Linked DNA regions of Homo sapiens: all the other regions are linked to region 3. The links are contacts of gene promoters, found by promoter capture Hi-C in blood cells and fetal thymus (Javierre and others, 2016). All regions are on one chromosome and are shown on one strand. The core of a region is centred on a gene start or on the middle of the fragment in contact, and the rest is flanking DNA. Distances in the headings are between cores, read along the strand shown.

Region 1 (4,952 bases), core at 63-2,562, 400 kb before region 3:
TTATTGCCGTCAGCATGCTGCCTGACTCCTTGGGACGGGTGACCTCCTTGACTAGGGACCCTGCTTGAATGCACTTAAAAGTCAATGTTACATGCAAGCTTAAAGCTCTGGGCCGGGACCACAGGCACTGACCCCGCAAACCGAGCGACCCCATCCTCTTCTCTTCCTGCAGGCAGAATGACCTCTGCTGGGGCGTCAGCGGCAGGGGGATGCCCCCGTTGTTGTACATGGTGCAGTAGCGGATCACCTCTTCCAAGGCCCCTTTCATGAAGTAAATGTCTTCCTGATCCTTAGAAAAGACAAAGGGAAGAAATCCACTATCACTGGAAGCCTTGGTTCATACTGACCATCACCCCACTCTGCACAAGGTTACAAAGACACACACGGGGATCTTTGCAGCGGAGTTATTTATCATAGGCTGGTGCTGTTCACAGGTGCTGGACAGGTTCGCGAAGTTCTAGAATCCATCCATGGAACGTTTTGCAGTCCAGAGAAAGAACAAGGCCAATCTTCAACCTGTACTACCCTTGTTCTTTTTTCAGTTCCCTTGTTATGGTCACTCAGAGCGTCTTGTATGTTTCATGCACGGGAGGTATCATCCCAGCTGGGACTGTGCCTTTGGGGGTGTGATTAACTGGGAATATTTCCATTAGACTGTTGCCTCCCTAGGGCAGCACCAAGTCTATTTTGTACCCACCCCCAGCACTTGGCTTGTAATAGTGAAGCCACATGAGTAGCTGATCATTTTTCCTGTGTTTTTCTTAAGCTCTGTCATGACAAACATGTAGACTATGAACTCCACGGGGGGAGGCCCTGGGTCAGTGAGAGTCACACTGTACCCCTAGCCTCAATACCGGACATACCTGGCTCACGTGGGTGCACAGTGTGAATGTAACACTGTTATAAGATAATATAATATTAATTATATATGTTATTAATATGTAATTAACATATTAATGTTATTAATAAATATAATATTAATTACAGATGTTAATACATTAATTATAGTACATATGTATTGTATATTATTTATATGTATTATATTACATTATATTATTTATATGTATATTATATATTATATATAACTAATATATTCTTATACAATTATAATATATATTACATAATATATATTAAATAATATATGTAATATATGTAATATATATTACATATTATATAATTAATATGTTAATATAACAAGCTTATATTAACCAACACAGACATCTAAGACATAATATTAAAAGAAAATCTTAGGGGGAAAAAGCAAATTACACACACTATAAATAGTGACCTTGTTTTGAAAATACCATCCAGATGTTGTCGTTTGCATATTTAAAATCTGCAATGCTCCATCCCAGACTTAAAATAGAATTACCTCTGGGTGGGTGGTGGGGAGGGAGGGAAGAAGGGTGGAATGAAAGAAGCTTTCATTTTTATGTCATATTTCTATACTTTTTCAATGAGAATATATTACCATTGCCTTGCAAGGGAAAAGATTTAAAGGTCTAAAAGTTTTTTGAAAATCTATAATCCCTTCTAAGCCCCTGAAATGTACATGTGTCCATCCATGCACAGGAAGGGCCTGGCATGAGCTGGCTGAGCTGCCCACAGCCCTGAGTGGGAGCTGAGCAGTCTGCGTGGGCAGACATGATAGATTCTAGAAAGAGTGGGAGGGAAGAGGAGGGGTGGAGAAAACGGTAGAAGGCAACAAAAACTTTAAAAAATAGCTTTTAAGGAAAATCTGAAAAGCCACAACAAATCTGAAAAGAAAATTTTAAAAATCAGCTGTAATGTCCACCCGGGGTGGCCATAGCTTGGTATGTGTTCCTCTAGCCAGGGACAACACGTGTGCACACGCTGATGCACCACACAGACACGCCTTCCGTACTGAAGGATTTGCTCCCCAGTATGACGGGGAGATGAGCTAAGAAGTATAAAAAACTTAGCACAGGGCTGCAAAGAGAGGACTGGCAAGTTGGCGACTGGTGTTAGCAGCAGGGCCTCAGTCACTGGATTACAGGCTGGTCGATCTCAACATTTGCACCTGCATCAGAATCTGCAGAAAATGAAGGTTACTGGGTCCCACCCCTGGACCCTTCGACTCAGGAGGTCTGGCATGGAACCTGAGATTCTGCATTTCTAATAAAGTCTCGCGTGGTAACAACCGCTGCTACTCCAGGGACCCTGCTTTAAGAACTTCTGTTTTAAACAAAAAGCCAGAAGCAGACCCAAGAGAATCAAAGGTATGATGGTGATTAAGTTTTTCCATGTATTTGGAACGTCACAGAAGCAGCCAGGAACTTTCAAATTATCCTTGAAGTCTGCATTTTGCTTTATCTCTGGGTGGGGGCCCGGGCAGAAAGAGAGAAGAGGTTGAAGATTGAAAGGTCTCACCTCAGTCTTCAGACTGCATTTCACCGCCATCCACTTCTGCTCTGAACTGAATGGAATCTCTTTTTTTCTTATATATGAATTTTTAATATCACTTAAGTCCATCTAGCATAATAAAATGACACATTTTTAGTGAGTCATCCGAAGCCAATCTCTATACAAAGCTCAGTCCATTTAAATTATTCATTGTTCAAACCACCTCTGGCAGATAAGAAATCCAAGCATTTAGCACATAGAAAAAAGGCCATTTCTCTTGGAATGTCCCACCTAGAAAAAAAAAAAAAAGTCTCTTCTCTTGGCTGAAGGGCAGACAAGACGGTCTTTGCAACAGCTTCTATCTGAAATCTGCTTAGAAACAAACCTGCAGTGTTTCTGCCGGGAGGAATGTTTCAGACTTGAAGGTGTAGCAATTTCTCAGACGGAACCCCCTGAGTCAGTGAGACAGCCCTGCGTCCAGAACATGGGGTCCTTGCCAGCCCCCCGTCCACAGCCTGGGGTCCTTGCCAGCCTGGCCCTTTGTTGCTCTTTGGTGGCTTTTGGATCAGTGATGTGACAACTCAGAATCTCAGTTTCCCCAGGTGTAAACCAGTCATGACCCATGCATCCCACTGTCCCACAGGGGGTGAAAATGCGGTGCAGCAGGGGCACAAAAAACTACTCCTTTTACGTAGAAAGTGCAGATATGCGTACAATACAGTGTATCTACCATATTAAATTTCATGGGGAGGGAGTGGGGTGATTAGGGAAGAAATGCCTAAACCATCTCCTTAGTGGGGTTGAATTGTACCCCACAAAAGATATGTTGAAGTCCTAACCTCGGAACCTCTGAATGTGACCTGATTTGGAATAGCGCCTTTGCAGATATCGTCAATTTGAGGCTATTAGGGTTGGCCCTAAGCCAACATGACTGGATATAAGAGGAGGAAGGCCGGGCATGGTGGCTCATGCCTGTAATCCCAGGACTTTGGGCAGCCGAGGCGGGTGGATCACGGGGTGAGGAGATCAAGACCATCCTGACTAACATGGTGAAACCCTGTCTCTACTAAAAATACAAAAAGTTAGCCAGGCGTGGTGGCAGGCGCCTGTAGTCCCAGCTACTTGGGAGGCTGAGGCAGGAGAATCGCTTGAACCTGGGAGGCGGAGGTTGCAGTGAGCGGAGATCAAGCCAGTGCACTCCAGCCTGGGCAACAGAGCGAGACTCCGTCTCAAAAAAAAAAAAAAAAGAGGAAAACGCTGCGCAGAGGCGTGGCGGGGAGCACCTCGTGACAGAGACAGAGCTTGGTGTGAGAGACCAAGGCAGGGATGCGTCTGCGAGTCAAGGAACGCCCGGGGCTGCCAGTAACACCCAGAAACTGGGAGACGGAGCCTGGCCCTGCTCACACCTTGATTTCAACTTCTGGCCACAGAGCTGTGTTTCAGTGTGTTTTGGTTACACTAAATCACCAGCCAGTGGTGTTTTATTTCAGTAACCCCAAGACCCTAATCCAGGAGCAATAATGGAAGAAAAGCCCGGGAACCACTGGCCTGGCCTCAGTGCCATTTAGAGCAGGTGAGACAGGTAAGAACCACAAAGTGCTTGCCCCATGCCTGTCACACAGGCAGCACTTCCTACATGCCAGCCAGTGTTTGTTCTGTATTCCAAAATCTTAAGCCAGGCCCCAGGAAAAAGGAAAATTATAACACATCAAGGAAATCTCTTCTGGGTGCTGGAACCTCTCTCCTCTCTAGGCTGCAGGGACGGCTGGTGGCGGAAGCAAGGTGACACATGGGTGTCATTCCTGCCAGGCGGTCAGGCCGGCACCTTCCCTTCTGGGCGGCGAGGAGTTGTTGAATGGGGCAGACTCAGCACTATTTTAAAACGGGAAATGAGCTCCATTCACTATTACAGACATTGCAGAGAGAATTCTCTTCTGTGAATGGAAGAAAAATAATACGATGTCATGATTTCTGTTTGTTTTTTTGAGACGGAGTCTTGCTCTGTCACCCAGGCTGGAGTGCAATGGTACGATCTCGGCTCACTGTAACCTCCGCCTCCTGGGTTCAAGCAATTCTCCTGCCTCAGCCTCCCGAGTAGCTGGGATTACAGGTGTGCACCACCATGCCCAGCTAATTTTTATATTTTTAGTAGAGATGAGGTTTCACCATGTTGGCCAGGCTGGTCTTGAACTCCTGACCTCAGGTGATCCACCTGCCTCGGTCTCCCAAAGTGTTGCGATTACAGGTGTGAGCCACTGTGCCCAATCTTTTTGTTTTTTTTTTTTTTTTTTTTTTGAGGCAGGATCTCTCTCATCTAGACTGGAGTGCAGTGGTGTGATCATAGCTCATTGCAGCCTCAGACTCCTGGGCTCAAGGGATCCTCCTGCCTCAGCCTCCTGAGTAGCTGGGACCACAGGCATGCACCACCATGCCCAGCTAATTTTTATATTTTTTGTAGAGATGGGTTTTCGCTATGTTGCCCAGGCTGGTCTCAAACTCTTGGCCTCAAATGATCCTCCCGCCTTAGCCTCTTAAAGTGCTGGGATTTGAGCCACTGCACTCAGCCTGTAATGACTTTCCAATGTTCT
Region 2 (4,331 bases), core at 1,370-3,869, 420 kb before region 3:
GTTCTCCCCGCTTGAGCATGCATCAGATTTGCCTAGAGAGCTTCTTAAAATGCATATTGCAGGTCTGCATTCCTGCTTCTGATGATGTAGGTGAGGATGGGATTAACTCTTGACAACCTTATCCATTTCTTTTACCATTGGATTGTTTTAAATCTCTGCTGGAAGTCTTCAAATTACTTTATGTAATATTGACCCCAAAGTATTGAAACTCTTTTGTAGTTATGTTTTTTTTCCTTTTCTTGTGTTTTCATTTTCCTAGATTGGATTCAGTTACTAATTTTGCTTTTATATTATTCCTGCTTTTCTTCAGTTTTTTTTTTTCAGTTTTTTGAGTTATTTTACTAAATAAAAAATAATGGAAGTAGATGAATACATAAAGCTATTACTTTTTTCTTGGGCCCTGAGTTATTTTGCAGTATTGTATAGATAGGTGTGTGTTGATCATAAGCTTCTAGATTTTCTGTGGCCTTCATTTTGATTTTCTCTTGTACCCAAGAGTTTTTAAATTTTGCTGTGCTAGAGAATTTCCCCTAGTCCTGTCACTCGTCTTTAAATTAGATTGCATAGTGATTAGAGATGTCATCTGTATTATTATTTTTTTAAGACAGAGCCTCACTTCATTGCCCAGGCTGGAGTGCCATGGTGTGATCTCAGCTCACTGCTACCTCTGCCTCCCAGGTTCAAGCGATTCTCCTGCCTCAGCCTCCCGAGTAGCCTGGGATTACAGGCGCCCACCACCATGCCCAGCTAATTTTTGTATTTTTAGTAGAGATGGGGTTTCGCTATGTTGCCCAGGCTGGTCTCAAACTCCTTACCTCAAGTGATCCAACCGCCTCGGCCTCCCAAAGTTCTGGGATTACAGGTCTGAGCCACCATGCCCGACCAAGAAGTCATCTATATTAGATCTACTCTTTGGAATCACTGAGGTTTTGTGTCCTTTCATGTGGTAAGTTAATATAATGAATTTTCTGTATCCTTTGCCTGAATTTCCCATACTGTTTCCTCTTTAAATTTGAATGTTGTGTTGGTACATAGTCTGGCCTATGGATTTTTCAGTGGTGATTATATCTTGTTAAATTTCCTTCTTGGTCTCCTTTAATGCTTTTGGCCTTTCTTTTAATCTTGTCTGATTAGACTGTGTCACCTTGGTCTTGTGTGTTGTTTGTCTTTACCTGGTGTATTTTTGCCCTATGAGTATATCTTATCTTCTTACACACTTTGAAATAATTTTAGATTCATATAGACTTCCAAAAATTGTACAGGAGTTTCTGTCACTCCATGAGTGAGTGGATAAAGAAATTGTGGTACATCCATGCAGTGGAATACTAGTCAGCCATGAAGAAGAACACACATAAAACAACTTGAAGGGACCTTACAGGTATTATGCTTAGTGACAAAAGCCAGTCTTAAAAGGTTCTATACCATGATTCCATTTATGTAACAGTATTGAAGGAACAACATTATGGTGATGAAGAAGGGATTAGAGGTTGCTGGGATTAGGAGGGTGTTACTATAAAAAGTAAGGAGGAGTTTTTCAGGGGCGATGGAAGTTTTGCCTCCTCATTGTAGCAGTGGTTACCTGAATTGATGTGTGTCATACAATTTCATAGAACTTGTGTTGTGGGGGGCAGGAAACCACTCTCAGACCCAGTGATTGGCTAGAAAGACTCAGGACTCAGAAACTGTTGAGCTCAGAGGGAGAGGGTGACCAGTCTCTGCAGTTGCAGCCCTGGGGCTGTTCTAATCTGTATCTTTTCCTGGTAATAGACATGGCTGTGAGCATGACAGGTGTCAGTGAGCTCTGTGTGCCTCATCAACGAATCATCCAACCTGAAGGTGGTTGTGGGAAACTCTTGGACCTGCAGTCAGTATCAGAAGGCCTGGGCAGACTTGGCCAGCCACCTGGAGCACTGTGCCCTTAAACTCAGGTTTGCCTAACATCAGATACTATGTAAAAACCAGTGAAATTGAAATAGGTCTGCTGATAACAATATCATACCAAGCTTGTTAGAACAAGTTTATCTGTGTCTTAAAAAAAAACAAAAACAAAAAAACCCTGGGATTTTGATGGTAATTGTGTTAAACCTAATACAACAATCTCGGGAGAATTGATACTTTTTTTTGAGACAGACAAATAGTATTCAATTTTAAATTTCAGTTTCCAGTTGTTCATTGCTAATATATAGAAATACGACTGCTTTTTGTGTGTTAACCTTGTATCTTGTGGCTTTACTAAACTCGTTGATTCTACGAGGGTTTTTCTTTTTTAAAAAGATTTGTTGGGATTTTCTGTGTGGACAATTACGTTATCTGTGATTTTCTCCTTTCCAGGCTCTTTGCTAATGCCTTTTAACTTTTCTTGCCATATTACACTGGCTAGGACTTCTAATACTGTGCTGAATAGGAGTGGTGAGGCTGGTCACCCTTGGACCTTATCCTGTGGGGAAAGAATTCAGTTTTTCATCATTAAGTATGATGTTAGCTATAGGTTTTTTGTAGATGTTCTTTATCAGGTTGAAGAAGTTTCCTTCAATTCCTAGTTTGAGAGTTTTTATTACAAATGGAGATTGAATTTTATCAAATGCCTTTTCTGCATTAATTGATATAACCATGTGTTTTTCCTTCTTCAGACTATTAATATAGTGAGTTATATTGGTTTTTGAATGTTGAACTTTTCAGTTATATTGGTTTTGAATGTTGAACTTTGGAATGCTTGAATTCCATTCCTCAATTAACCCCACTTCGTCCTGGTGTCTTATATTCTTCGTACCTGGCTAGATCTGATTTCCTCATATTTTGTTGAGGATTTTCGTGCATATATTCATAAGGGATGTTGGTCTCTAGTATTTTTCTCTAGTTTTGGTATCAGAGTGATTGTTGACCTTATAAAATGAGAAGTGCTCGGTCCCCTTTTATTTTTGGAATTCAGTGTATCGAATTGCCATTTCTTTACAAGTTTAGTAAAATTCACCAGTGAAATCATCTGGCTTCAGAAACTGCCTTTTTTGGAAGGGTTTCAACTTCAGCTTATCTATTTAATCTTCAGTGAGTTTTGGTAGTTTTTGGTTTTCAAGCAATTGGTTTATTTCATCCAATTGATTGAATTTAGGTACATAAAGATGTACATAGTATTATTTATTATTATTGTTGGAATATCTTGAAGGGTTTGTGGTGATATACTTTTTCATTCCTGACATTGGTCATTTCTCTTCCCTTTTTTCTTTGATAAGCTTATTGCAAGACTGATAGTTTTATTGATCTCTTCGAAAAACTAGGTTTTGATTGATTTTCCTCTATTTTTGCTTTTTCGTTTGATTTCTGCTCTTTATTTTGGTGACTGTTTCTATGCTACTCGTGAATGGGGTGTTCTACAAGTGTAAATCAAGCTAAGTTGCTTAATGGTGGTGTTCAAGTCTACTGTGTCCTTAATGAAAAGAAGGTCTTAGTTTTAATGTAGTCTAATTTATATTTTATTGTTAGCATTTTGTGTCTTACTACAGTTTTATCCCTAAAGTTTACATAAGCAAGAGTTCAGAGTAATCGACCCTGGTATTTTGATTACTTAATTTTAAATGGGAAGTAAATGTCTCGGGCCAGCAGTGTGCCCAAGGATCCTGAAAAGTAGAGCAAGAATTGTCCCTGACTCAGGGGGAGGCACTCCTTAGCAGACTGTGGAAGTGGCACACTTCAGCCTTGACCTCTTAGTGGTTCCAGGGGTTGGCAGCTTCTAGGAAGACAGCCCCACAGCTCAAAAGGTTTCTTCTCCAGCCAGCCCTGTGTCTGTGTCTCACTAGGAATGGCCCATCGCTGCATCTCCTCCTGTGGCCCTGGTGTCACAGGTTGTAGCCAGAGAGGGGCTTCTTCCCAGGCTGTGAATCCTACTATGGAGGACTTTGGACTCTGCCTGGAACCCTGGCAGGGGTCCACTCTGACCTTCCTTATCTTCGTCTGACCCAGCTGTTACCACCCCTGGTAGCCCTTTTCATAGCTACCGTGGCTGGGTGCAACGGGTACTTTTATCTGACAACTTGGCCAGGCCAAGTTGATTTTCGTCAAACAAACACTGGTCTAGATGGCGCTGTGTAACTAACATGTAAGCCCGTAGACTTGAAGTAAAACAAACAGTTTATCCTTCATAACGTGAGTGGGCCTCATCCGATCAGTTGAGGACTATAAGAGGAAAAGGCTGAACTCCCTTGAGGAGGAGGAAATTCTGCCTCCAGCCTGCATCCCCAGCTCTTCCCTGGGTCTCCAGGATGCTGGCCTGCCCTCAAGATGTTAGACTTGCCAGCCCCCAACATCCTATGAGCCAGTTCCTTAAAACAAATCTC
Region 3 (5,077 bases), core at 525-3,024:
GGAACCTGTGACTGTTAACGTTATTTGGAAAAAGGGTCTTTGCAGATATAAGTAACGATCTTGAGATGGGATCATCTTGGATTATCTGGGTGGGCCTTTCTGAAAAGAGAAGACACAGAGGAGAAAGCTTGGGAAGATGATGCTGGCAGAGACGGCAGCAATGCAGTCACAAGCCAGGGAGTGCCTAGGCCCCCAGGAGCTGGAAGAGGCAGGAAGGATCCGCCCTCCATGGCCTCCAGAGGGAGCATGTCCCCATTGATACCTTGACCAACTTCTGACCTTCAAGACCATGACAGAATAACTTTCTATTGTTCTAAGCCCCTGAGTCTGTGTTGGCAGCCTCAGGAGCGTAATACAGGGGAACAATCAAACGACGTTTCCTTTCCTCTCTTTTCTGGCATTTGTGTATTCATTCATTCATTCATTCATTCTCTCACACACTCATTCAGGCACTGTCAGAGTCCTTGTGGGGCAGGAGGCCGTGTGACATTACAGCCTCTGAAAGGAGCCTGACTCAGGGTGAATCCCAGCCTTGTTGCTTGCCAGCTGTGATGCTCTGAGCCACGTGCTCCACCTGCCTGAGCCGAGTTCCTGCTTGGTGCGGGGTGGGAGTTGGGGGGAACAGTGGGGACACCCGCTCAGGAATCCGCGTGAACTCATCCAGGCTAGGTTCTCAGCAGCACATTTATGCAGCAGTGGCGTGAATGTCATCCGGGTCATTGTCCAGCCTTGAGCTCCGGGACTGCAATCCCGGCTCCCTTTCACTTGCCCCTGCTGAGAAGCCAGCCACTGACTCTGCTGGTTGGGCATTTATGGAGCAGCCATTGTGTGAGCCACAGAGTTTGGAACCTGCCTGCTCATCAGGAGGTAACAGGAGTCGGGGGTTGAGACCATTAGAAACCACATCAAAAAGAAGCCTTTGGGGCTGATCTGGTGTCGGACAGATAAGGACTGATTAGATGCAGCGGGGGGAGGGGTTCTGGGCATTGAGGATATTTAACTGAAAGCAGTGCTTCTCAGCGAGGGGCCGAACCAGCGGCATTGGAGTCACCTGGGAACCCGTTAGAAAGGCAGGTGCCCAGACCCCGCCCCGGAGACACTCAGTCAGAAACAGGGGCTGGGGCCTGGTGTTCTGTGTTTGAACAAGCCTTCCAGTGGATTCTGATGCAAACTGGAGTTCGAGAATGCGGGTGAGAGGGAGCCTGGGTTCCAGGAATAAACAGTCAAATTCCGGATCTGAGCTGCATGTGCCAGCATTTTCCGGAATGGGGCCGTCTCCGATATTCTGTCCCCTTAGCTGACCCCGTATCAGTTTGGAGAGATGTGTCATCACTCAAGCGTGGCCTAGGGACCAGCAGCCGCCGCCTCCCCCAAGCGTTCAACAAGCCCCGTCTCAGGTGACTCGTGTGCATGGGATTAGCTCTGAGACGCACCTGCTGGAGTTGGGTGGAGGAGGTAAAGGAAACCACCTAGGAGGCAGCACCTGCGGACGGTGGAGCCTGTTCTGCAGAGGAGGAGGCTGGGCTCAGGGCACTTTTCACGCCCCCTCCGTTGGGCTGGGGACCTTGGAGAGGTATGTGAGGATGGAGGCGCTGCAGAAGCTGCCATGAGATCATGGTGCCTGCTCCCCTGCCCCGTGTGGCTCCCAGCTGAGCTCCCTGTCACCCTCCAGGGCAGCTGAGAAAGCTCCACCCCCGGGGCCGGGCCTGCAGGGGGCTGGGGAGAGGCGGGAGTCTTAAGCCTTCCTTGCTCAGGTCAGAAGTCTCAAAAGCTGCAAATTCTTGGGACCCATGGCCCTGACCACTTGTTGCTGTCCTCTTAGGTGTGGAGGGGCCTGACCCTGACACATACTCGCTAGGGCTCCTTTAGTTAATGACTCACTCACCCCTGGCCAAGCTCGAATCTTGCTTCTCCCACCCCTCTGGCCCCAAGAAATGCAACTGAGCCACCTGGAGTAAGCCCGAGTCCCATCCCCAACAGCCAAAGACTGTCCGGCACCTTAAAAGTTGGATTTGGTGGTAAGGACCAGGAACTGGGGGTCTGTTTGTACAGAAGTTTGGCTGGAAGCAAAGGGAGTGGATGGGAATGGGGGGAGAGAGGATTGATGGGGATGAGGAAGGTTGGGGGTTTGGGAGAAGAGAGGGAGGGGGAAGGGGTGAGGTTGCCTTGGGGTCTAGTGGGAGGGCAGGAGTGAGAATAATGTGGGTAGGGAATGGGAGACGAAGGGGGACTAGAAGTCGTGGGCAGATGCATGCAGCACCCTTTGGAAAGGGGGAGCTGACGCCAAGGAAGCGGGCAGGAGCGGCTCAGGGAGCTCTCACTGAGTTGGGGAGACAAATAAGGATATCGAGAACTTAGGGAGGAAAGCGTGAAGACTGTGCTTTCTCTCCACCCCTCTGCCGCCTCTAGCCATGGAGGGACAGACCCCAGGAAGCAGGGGCCTTCCAGAAAAGCCTCACCCTGCCACGGCTGCTGCCACTCTGTCCTCGATGGGCGCTGTCTTCATCCTCATGAAGTCCGCGCTGGGAGCTGGCCTGCTCAACTTCCCCTGGGCCTTCTCCAAAGCGGGCGGAGTGGTCCCTGCCTTCCTGGTGGAGCTGGTAAGTCCCCGGGAAGTGAGTCCTGGGGACGGGTACGAGGTGGCTTTGGCTTTTCTGGGTGGGGTTCCTCGCATTGCTTCTGCGGAGTTGCGTGTCCTGTAAGCTATAGCTTCGGGGTTTTATTTTCTATCCCGCTCAGCTAATGAGGGGAGAAGATAATCCCACTGTAGCCCTGGGATGAGAATATCCCCCGTGGGCGCTGGTGGCATCTGATACACAGCTTCCGGGATGGAGCTACAGGCATCGCAGCTCTGTCTGTGAAGTGGGCATTTCACCTGGGAAGGAACCTCTCTGGGCGCCCTGCCTGGCCAGCTGCTCTTTCTTGCCTGCTGGTCTTAGCTCAAAAACTAAAGCTGGGCCGGGCACGGTGGCTCGTGCCTATAATCGCAGCCCTTTGGGAGGCCAAGGTGGACGGATCACCTGAGGTCAGGAGTTTGAGACCAGCCTGGCCCATATGGTGAAACCCTGTCTCTACTGGAAATACAAAAATTAGCGGGGCGTGGTGGCGGGCGCCTGTAATCCAAGTTACTCAGGAGGTGGAGTCAGGAGAATCGCTTGAACCTGGGAGGCGGAGGTTGCAGTGAGCTGAGACTGTGCGCTCCAGCCTGGGCGACGGAGTGAGACTCTGTCTTAAACACACAAAAACAAAGCTCGACTCCTGTGTGCAGATTGAGCCTAAAACTGGTGTGACACTCCCACACTCCCCACACAGAGCCGGGCCGGCCTTGCCTGGTGTCGGATGTTCCGCTCTCCTGCCTGCCGGGTGCAAAGCCAGAATTCCCTTTTGGGGAAGCGCGGACGCCGCGCTCTTCTCTTTGCTGCGGGAGAGCCACTGATGAGCACAGCTTTATTTTCTAAGATCCTTTGCCGCTGGCTGATGGAATGAATTGCTGCATTTTGTGGTAAGCTCTTTGGCCGGCTTTTTCTCACACGTCTTACGGCAGCTGGTGGATAATGGCTGAGTTCCAACCGTTTGTGTGCCCTGAGGCTCTTCGGGTCTGTTTGGAAACTAGTGTCGGGTGTAACCCATGACACCCCTGGCGTTGGCCGAGCTCCTGCCCCGTGCCTGGCCTAGGATGGATGACGCAGTGTGGTCCCTGTCCTCATGGAGCTTTGTTTTAATGGGAAGTCAGACAAGATGCATGTCATCAGCTTCAGATGGTGGATCATGCCGGGAGGGTCATGTGTCTCTGGGGATCGGGGGATGATATGACATGGCGTGGTCGGAAGCCTCTCGGAGGAGGTGACCTTTGCGCTGAGCCCCACTGGAAATGGTAAGAGCTTCCTGAGGTGCACGTGACGGGGCAGCACGCCTGCGTTTGGACTAGTGTGTCAGGAAGCCTGCCATTACAGCAGTGAGGGAGAAGCCCCATCTCAAGCCACAGAGGGCAGGTGGGGCTTGGGGGTAGGGTTGTGGCCAATCCCCGGGCAGCAGGAATGGCCATGAGCCAGAGAGTGGGAACCCTGTTCCACAAGCACCGTGCAGGCATTTCACACAGATCTTGCTGAAATGCAGATGCTGGCCCTGCAGGGCTGGGTGGGCCTGAGACCACATTTGTGACTTGCTTCTGGGGAAACAGCTGTTTTGTTTTGCTTAGGATGAGCTCCAGATCCCTTCACTCAGCAGACTTGAGGAGAAGGGAACCCTGAGGTGAATAAATGGAAACTCATGGCAGAGCAGAGGAGCCAGCCTGGCTCTTGACACGCTCCCGCCACCCCAAGTTGTTCCTTTTAGCCTCCAGGGCTACCGGGGAGATGGAGTTGGGGCTGGAGTGATGTCACTGTGAATGATGGAAGATTTGGGGGAGGCTGCTATCCTCCACTTAGCTGGTGAGGCTTCTGCATGGGGAGCGTTTAAATGTGAAGTCAGTGGGCAGAGGTTGGAAGCCTGACGCGTTAGGGTTGGCGGTTTAGTGCCATTTGATGAAAACAGTCTAGGGCCATACCACCTTGAACGCACCTGATCTCATCTGATCTCAGGAGCTAAGCAGGGTCGGGCGCGATTAGTACTTGGATGGGAGACATTTGATGAAAACGGGCAAATCCCCTCTTGGGAGCTGTGGAGGGGCTGGGTCTGGCATGGCGACCGGGGCTCCTTGCGGTTCTGCTGCCTGGAGGCTCAGTCCCTCTTGTGACCCTGTCCTCCAGGGATGGCTGGCTCACCAGTGAGGCTTCCTTGCCCCCCACACCTTCCCCTGCCTTTTTTTTTTTTTTTTTTTTTTTTTGAAGGTCTCACTCTCTTGCCCAGGCTGGAGTGCAATGGCGTGATCTCAGCTCACTGCAACCTCCGCCTCCCTGGTTCAAGCGATTCTCCTGCCCAGCCTCCTCCCAAGTAGCTGGGACTACAGGCATGTGCTGCCACACCCTGCTAGTTTTTTGTGATTTTAGTAGAGATGGGGTTTCACTGTGTTGGCCAGGATGGTCTCGATCTCCTGACCTCAGGTGATCCACCCGCCTTGGCCTCCCAAAGTGCTGGG

What was found. Contacts are between HindIII fragments. The CHiCAGO score rates a contact against its expected background, and 5 or more counts as called.
Region 1: a contact is called between a fragment that was not itself captured here and the fragment with the promoter of SLC38A8 in region 3, in 3 of 17 cell types (naive CD4 T cells, M2 macrophages and M1 macrophages). The highest score is 5.6, in naive CD4 T cells.
Region 2: a fragment that was not itself captured here is called in contact with the fragment with the promoter of SLC38A8 in region 3 in 2 of 17 cell types (M2 macrophages and M1 macrophages); the score reaches 7.1 in M2 macrophages.

The regions. Positions count from the first base shown.
Region 1 is chr16:84,443,870-84,448,821 of GRCh38, reverse strand. It overlaps ATP2C2 (ATPase secretory pathway Ca2+ transporting 2), which reads right to left. Exons shown (of 27, transcript NM_014861.4): 16 at 2,392-2,493; 17 at 133-289. Among named protein-coding and RNA genes, the nearest start is that of ATP2C2-AS1, 21 kb to the left of the region's middle. The HindIII fragment of the contact is 223 bases long and covers 1,201-1,423 here.
Region 2 is chr16:84,464,901-84,469,231 of GRCh38, reverse strand. It overlaps ATP2C2-AS1 (ATP2C2 antisense RNA 1), which reads left to right and starts at 1,871. Exons shown (of 3, transcript NR_146503.1): 1 at 1,871-1,928. The HindIII fragment of the contact is 1,227 bases long and covers 2,006-3,232 here.
Region 3 is chr16:84,039,492-84,044,568 of GRCh38, reverse strand. SLC38A8 (solute carrier family 38 member 8) reads left to right here and starts at 1,774. Exons shown (of 11, transcript NM_001080442.3): 1 at 1,774-2,018; 2 at 2,410-2,600. The coding sequence starts at 2,412. It also overlaps the pseudogene RNA5SP432. RefSeq lists enhancers at 203-906, 907-1,611, 1,612-2,315, 2,316-3,020. The HindIII fragment of the contact is 8,642 bases long and covers 130-5,077 here.